Linked DNA regions of Homo sapiens: region 1 is linked to region 2. The links are contacts of gene promoters, found by promoter capture Hi-C in blood cells and fetal thymus (Javierre and others, 2016). All regions are on one chromosome and are shown on one strand. Each heading gives the region's core, a stretch centred on a gene start or on the middle of the fragment in contact. The rest is flanking DNA. Distances are from core to core; before and after follow the strand shown. Region 1 holds the start of UROC1 (urocanate hydratase 1). Region 2 has its middle 7.5 kb from the start of PLXNA1.

Evidence for each region. The method cuts DNA at HindIII sites, captures the fragments that hold promoters and counts their contacts. A CHiCAGO score of 5 or more calls a contact.
Region 1: a contact is called between the fragment with the promoter of UROC1 here and a fragment that was not itself captured in region 2, in 1 of 17 cell types (M2 macrophages). The highest score is 6.1, in M2 macrophages.

Annotation. Positions count from the first base shown.
Region 1 is chr3:126,515,352-126,519,078 of GRCh38, forward strand. UROC1 (urocanate hydratase 1) reads right to left here and starts at 2,422. Exons shown (of 20, transcript NM_144639.3): 1 at 2,243-2,422. The coding sequence starts at 2,368. The HindIII fragment of the contact is 15,536 bases long and covers 1-3,727 here.
Region 2 is chr3:126,973,835-126,977,461 of GRCh38, forward strand. No RefSeq gene overlaps it. Among named protein-coding and RNA genes, the nearest start is that of PLXNA1, 7.5 kb to the right of the region's middle. The HindIII fragment of the contact is 2,890 bases long and covers 724-3,613 here.

The DNA.
Region 1 (3,727 bases), core at 1,172-3,671, 460 kb before region 2:
ATCTGCCCCTGAGTACCCACCACCTACCCGCCCCCGTCCAGGACCCACCACTTACCAGCCTCCCCAGCACCCAACACCTACCCTCCCCTGCCCCCAGTGCCCACCACCTACCCTCTCCCTGTCTCCCAGCACCTACCACCTACCCCTTCCACTCCCCAGTACCCACCACCTACCCTCCTCCCATCTGCCCAGCACCCACCACCTACCCCCTTCCACTCCCCAGCACCCACCACCTACCCTCCTCCCATCTGCCCAGCACCCACCACCTACCATCCCCCAACCCCCAGCACCCACCACCTACCCTCCCCCTAACCCCCAGCACCCACCACTTACCCTCCCCCAACCCCCAGCACCCACCACCTACCCTCCCCCTCATCTGCCCAGCACCCACCACCTACCCTCTCCCCAACCCCCAGCACCCACCACTTACCCTCCCCCAACCCCCAGCACCCACCACCTACCCTCCCCCTCATCTGCCCAGCACCCACCACCTACCCTCTCCCCAACCCCCAGTGCCCACCACCTACCCTCCCCCCACCCCCAGCACCCAACACTTACCCTCCCCCACCCCCAACACCCACCACCTACCCTCCCTTGTCCCCCAGCACCTGACACCTACCCTCTCCGCCCCCCAATGTCCACCACCTACCCTCACTGTCTCCAAGTGCCTGTCATCTACCCTCCTCCTGTCCCCCAGCGCCTACCACCTACCCACCCCCTCCTCACCCCAGCACCCACCACCTATCCTCCCAACTCCCAGCACCCACCACCTACTGTCCCCTGCCCCCCAGCGCCCACCACCTACCCACCCCCTCCTCACCCCAGCACCCACCACCTATCCTCCCAACTCCCAGCACCCACCACCTACTGTCCCCTGCCCCCCAGCGCCCACCACCTACCCACCCCCTCATCACCCCAGCACCCACCACCTAATGTCCCCCACCCCCCAGTGCCCACCACCTACCCATCCCCTTGTCACCCCAGCACCCACCACCTACCTTCCCCCTCGTCCCCCAGCACCCACCAACTAGCCTCCTCCCACCCCCAGCGCCCACCACCTACCCTCACCCTCATCACCCCAGCACCCACCACCTACCCTCCCCCTCATCACCCAGCACCCACCACCTACCATCCCCCCACCCCAGAACTCACCACCTACCCTCCCACCCCCCAGTGCCCACCACCTACCCTCCCCCCTCCCCCCAGTGCCCACTACCTACTCTACCTTGCTGGCCCCTCCCCCATTTCCCTTTCCCTCCAGCACCCGCTCCACCTGCCCCCAGTGCCCCACTCCCACAAGGACCCCCAGCATCCTCCTAGCCCCCCAACTCCCCTCCACCCCCACACCCACCAACCTGCTTCCCCTTTCTCCCTTCCCCAGCGCCAGCTCTGCCCTGAGTGACCCCTACTGTCCCCACTGTGTCCTGTTAGGCCTCTGTGGGTGGCTCCAGAAAAGTCCAGTGGGCTCCGGTGCAAAGGGCAGCCATCTTTACCTGGGGAGGTAGGATTCCTCTTTTAATCTTTATGCTTGTTTGCAGTTTCCACTTCTCTACTGTTTCTGAAAATCTTGAGTAGTTTCCAGTAAAAAGTAGGAGGAAAGTCTATATAACCGTGTCACCTACTTTATTTCATTACTCTTCTCCACAACCCCCTGGTGTCACCATTTTCATCTCAAGCTGACAAATGACAAAAGGGAGGTTCCCAGACAGGGCACCACTGGCAAGCGTGCACCATCCCTGGACTGCTTTGCTGTTAGATGAGGGGATACTGGCCTCAGCCCATCTTTCCCTGGCAACTGCCTGCCAGCTACAGGGTTCAGCCATGCAGCCGCACGTTCTCCAGAGATTTGCGGGAGGGACATTTGCAAATGAAAATAAGAGCTGACCTGTGTGCAAACGTTCTGAGTGTTGGGGTGGACGCGGCGCTTGGTGTGGGACACTTCACACCCACCCAAGGCCTCCTCCCACTGGAGGTGGCCAAAGTGCCACCAGTGACCGGCTGCTGACCTTGAGCCTCAGGGTCCTCATCTGTAAACAGGCACGGCGATCCTGCACCCAAGGGCGGCTGCATCCAAGAGACAGAGTCCACTGTGCATTGCACCCGCACAGGCTGGAGCCCCTGGAGTCCAGGGTGGGCGGCTGAGCAGCTCCCACTAAGAGGGCAGGAAGCCTGGGTGCTCACTATGGACCACCTGGAGGATGCCTAGAGGCCAAGGCCTCGGGAGCACGGGCCCACTGCTTACCTGTTTCTCCACAGGGCTGAGGCTGGGGGTCCTGACAGGGGCATGGGGCACCCCAGCCTGGCGTCCCCGGTTCTCTGGGAGGGGCCGCAGGGGCAGGCCAGAGCACAGCGCCTGGAGGCTAGACATGTGTGACTGAGATGGAGGCAGAGGCCAGCACTGTGGGGAGGCCAGGAAGAGACTGGGCAGATAGGGCAGGGACCTCTAGCCCCAGGGCCACCTCCTCCAGCCTCTCATTGGGCGCCTGGCCTGTGCAGGGAGCCATGTGCAGGTCGGAGGGTCACTGGCCTCAGGTAGGGCACTTGCAGCGCTGACCTGGGGAGGACATTGCTCTGCGGGAGGGCAGGCTTCACAGTGGGGAGGGGGGCTGGGCTCACTTCCCCTTCCAGGAGGGCTGTGCTGTCCGGGACAGCTTTGGGGGTGGGTGGGGCTCTAATGCTGGGGTGTGCTGTGGCAGCCCTCTGGTGCACCACACCAAACATTCGATGTGGGGATCTGCATCTTGATGATGAGGAGATGGGAAGCCATGTGACACTGAACCGGACACAGAGTGTAGAGCCCCTCCTCCTGCTACCTCCTGCTGGGGGGTGGGGTGACAGGTGGAGCGGGAGCACCCAGCAGCAGGTGTGCCCTCCTTGGCTCCCCACTGGAGGGCTGGGTGACAGGTGCAGTGGGGGCCCTCAGTGGCAAGTGTGCTCTCTTCAGCTCCCGCTGGGGGGCACACCACTCTACCCCCTCCCAAAGCTCTTTTTGAAGGACCTGCCTGAGGGATGACCCTCATTCCCAAATCTGTTAACAACTCTGCCAGAAAGCACTCTTCATGAGCCCTATGCTATGGATGGAGAAACCAAGGCCCGGGTCTCCCTCACACAGCCAAGAAGTGGCCGAAGCTGAATTCCAGCAGTCCGGGGGAAGCAACACACCTGGGTGTACCCAGTGCGAGCCTGACCAGCCCTGTGGCCTTTGGCCATGTCCTGTCTACACAAGTGGGTGGCGATGGACAGCTCAGCTGCAAGGCGGTGGAGTGCCGTTAGGCAAGCCCCAGTGCAGGGCCCGCACGTGGAAGCCCAGCTGCCTTCTGAGTGCTTGCTCCTCTGAGAGCATCCTGTGGGTCAGCCCTGAGGGGTTCGTTGCCCCCATTTTAAGGATGAAGAAACAGGTGGAGAGAGGGATGGGACTTGCCCAGGGTTACACAGCCAGTCATGGGGGGAGCTGAGATTGGAGCCCTGAGGACCCAGAGGTCTGGCTCTAGCACCCTCCCATCCACGCTGGCCCTTTTGCAGCACAGGGAGGGCGCCCTTAATGGGGGTGATGTGAGACTGTGATAGAATAAGAAACAGGCTTTGATCTCTTCCCTGTTCCTGCCACAAAGCTCCTGAGGCCCTGGTAGATGGAAACTCTAGGAGAATCTTTTGTTCTAACGTTTGATCTTTGACCCTGGTTCCTGACACAGAGCTCCTAAAGCTGTTGGAATTTCCTGGGTGACAG
Region 2 (3,627 bases), core at 919-3,418:
GAGGAAACGCCAGCAGTGGAGTTGGTGCTGGTGTAAGAGCAACAGCAAAGGTATTTTTTTTAACTTTTTATATTGAAATAATGATAATCTGTAACAATTACAGATTCACAGGAAGTTGGAAAGATAATAGAGAGAGAAGCCTGTGTACCCTTCACCCAGTTTCCCCCAATGGTCACATTCTACATAACCACCACACATCAGAAAAGGGACATTGGCACTGGTGTGACAAGGGTGTCAAGCCCTGTGTCACTTTATCACACATGGAGATCCATGTTTCTGTCCCTGTAACCAGGATACAGAGCTGTTCCCTCTCCATGGAGACCCCCTGGTACTCCCTTTCACAGTGACAATCACCCCCCTACCCCAGCTCCTGGCAGCCGCCAATCTCCTCTCCATCTCTATGATTTTGTTATTTCAAAAATGTTATATAAATGGAATTATGCCATTTACATTTTCTGTAATTACTGACATAACTTCAGTCTGCTGTTTTATTTTTTGCTTTGTTTGTTCCTGTGTTTGTTGGTGGTGGTGTTTCTCTATTTTCTTTTTTTTGCCTTGCTGAGTGTTACTTGGACATATTTAAGCATCTATTTTGGTTTTTGTACAGTGTTTTTAGTGTATATCTTTGTATAGATTTCTAGTGGCTGCCATACTGCATTATACATATGTACTTATCACAGTCTACTGCCATCAACATTTTACCATTTCGAGTGACATGTAGAAAGCTTCCCTCTCTTTGTGTCCCTTTTCCCCTTCCATTTATAATATAATTATCCTAAATATTTTTTCTACATACATTGAGACATTCGACAATGCTATAATTTTTGCTTCAACCACCAAATGTAACTTAGAAACCTTCAGAGAAGGGGTCCATTGTATTTACCCATAGTTTTGCTCTTTCCATTGTACTTTCTTCCTGATGTCTCAAGATTCCTTCCTTATCACTTTCTTTCCATGAGAAGAACTTCCTTTGGCCCTCCTTTCACAGTAGGTTTGCTGGCAACAAACTTACTTTTCCCTTCACCTGAGAAGGTCTTGATTCCTCCTCATTCCTGAGGGATAGTTTCACTGGGTATAGAATTTATGGTTGACAGCTCTTTTCTTATGGCACTTAAAAACGTTCCACTTATTTCTTGCCTCCATGCTTTCTGATGAGACATCCATGTTTTTTGGAAGGTGGTTACGTGGCTGCTTTCAAAATTGGGGTTTGTTGTTGTTTAGTTTTTGGAAGTCTGACTGTGATATGTCTTGGTGTGGATTTCCTTGGGTTTATAACGTTTGGAGTTCATTCAGCTTCTTAAATCCTTACATTTATGTCTTTTGCCAAGTTTAGGAGATTGCTTCTTCAATATTTTTTCGGCTTTGTCCTCTTTCTCTTCTCCTCCTGGCAATTAGATGACATGAATATTAGATCTTTTGTTATCTCTCAGAGAACTCTTTTCTCCCACCCCTAGTCTATTTTCTCTCTGTTTCAGACTGGGTGGTTTATATTGCTCTATCTCCAGGTTCACTGCATCTTTCCTTTGTCCCCTCTGTTCTGCTTTGGAGTTATCGATTAAGTTTTTATTCTGATTATTGTATGTTTTTAAAAAATTCTAAAGTGTCCATTTGGTTCTCTTTATAACTTCTATTTCCTTGCTGAAACATTCTTTATTTTCATTTGTTTCAAGCATGTTCATAATTGCTCATCAAAGCACCTTTAGGATGGCTGCTTTAAAAGCCTCATCAGGTAATCCTGATATTCCTTCCTGTTCAACATATACCAGTATTGGTGTATGCTGATTGTATTTTCTGGTACAACTGACATTTCTCTGGTTCTTGCTATGACAGGTGATTTTCTTATTGGATCTTGAAAGTTTGGGGTATTGTATGTTGAGACTCTGGATTACATTTCAATCTTCTGTTTCACAGCTGGCCTCTCCTGACCCCATATGGTAGACAGAGAGGGGTGCTGCCCCATTACATCAGGAATGGGGGAGGGAAACCCAGCATCCCCACTTTAACCCAGGTGTTTTTAGCACAATGAGAAAACTTGGGTTGCTTCCCTCATCTCCAGGGAAGCAGGAGGCTGATCTCTTGCTGCCCTGCTTCTTGGCAGGGCAGTGGGGGCAAGGGCTGCTAGGCCTTAAAAAGAGGGTGCCAGGGATGGCTTTTCCAGAGGCTATGGCCCTGGAGAGGGCTCCCATACTTGGGAACATCTTTGGTGACCTGACTGTGACCCCCAGGATGACAAGCAGCATTCTGGGAGTGGTAGGAGCTGGACTGAGCCACGGACTGCAAACTGGAGGCCTGCTGGCTGGGATCTTCACACTTTTGAAAGGTCTTGTTCACTCCACACTCTCCCAATAACATGTGCATGCATTCCACCGATTACTGCTGCTGCAGCCCTGGCCTGCTCCGGCATTTGGCCCATCTCACTATTTACCTCCATCAACTACTTGGCCCCTGAAGTCATCTGAGTTTGCAGCCCCAGGAGGAGGCAGTGCCAAGTCCCCCCAGTCTCCAGGGATTGCTTGCATGTGTGTGGGCAGGTGGGGGGCAGGGGGAGGGACTCTGCTACTCTGTCTTTTGTGCAATAAAGTATTGACATTGACCTGGTTTTGTCTCCAGACCGGGAGTGGGGTGGTGACAGACCTACGCCCAGAGTGGTCAAAGGGAAAGGAAGCCAAGGAGGGCTCCTGGGGTGGGGTGGGGGCTGCAGAGAGGCTTCCTGGAGGAGGGGAGAAGGAGCTTGGGCCTTGAAAAATGAATGGTGGCTGGACACAGTGGCTTACGCCTTAATCCCAGCACTTTGGGAGGCTGAGGCAGGAGGATCACTTGAGTCCAAGAGTTTGAGACCAGCCTGGCCAAGATAGGTAGACCCCATCTCTACAAAATTAAAAAAAAATAAAAATAAAAATAAAGAGGAAAGGGCCAGGTGGGGACCCTCTTGGCCAGGAGCACAGCATGAGGAAAGGCCTGATGTGGAGGTGTCTTTGGAGCAAGAGTACAGTGTGCAAAGAGCACTGGGTACCAGGGAGACATGGCTGTAGGGTGGCCTGTTGGCCCCACAGGGTCCTGAGCGCAGGCATCTCCACACTACCCACTGTGCCACATGGCAGAACATGGGTTGCAGCGCCCACAGGGGAGCCACACCACTTGCTCTGGAAACTGGGCCCCACCACCACCTGGCTGTGGCCTTGGTCAGAACAGCCCCTGACTTGCTGCTGTGTCCACATGTGTAGATGGGTGACAGCAGTCTGCCCACCTCATAGAGGAGCTCAGCGGATAAGCACGTGGATTCCTGCCTTGTGCGTGCTGAGCATTTGGTCCCAGCTGGATGTGGCGGAAGGTGGACAGCGGGTGGGCTGTGCTGGCTGTGGAGGTGCAGATCGGGGCTGCAGTGGCTCCTGGTGGGTTTGACCTGTCCTGCATCCAGGCCCACTTGTTTGAAAACTGCACCTGGATTTTCTTTGGGGTAACCACTTCCCCAGTTCCACCTACTCACTCTGGAGAGGTCCCTGATCTCAGCCAACTATAGGGCCACAGTGATGGGTTCAAGGGGGCTACACGATCCAATCTGGTTCACTGAGGCTTCATTCTGGGAACTTTCCTGGACCTATGAGGAAAGAAAAGCTTGGAGCTGCC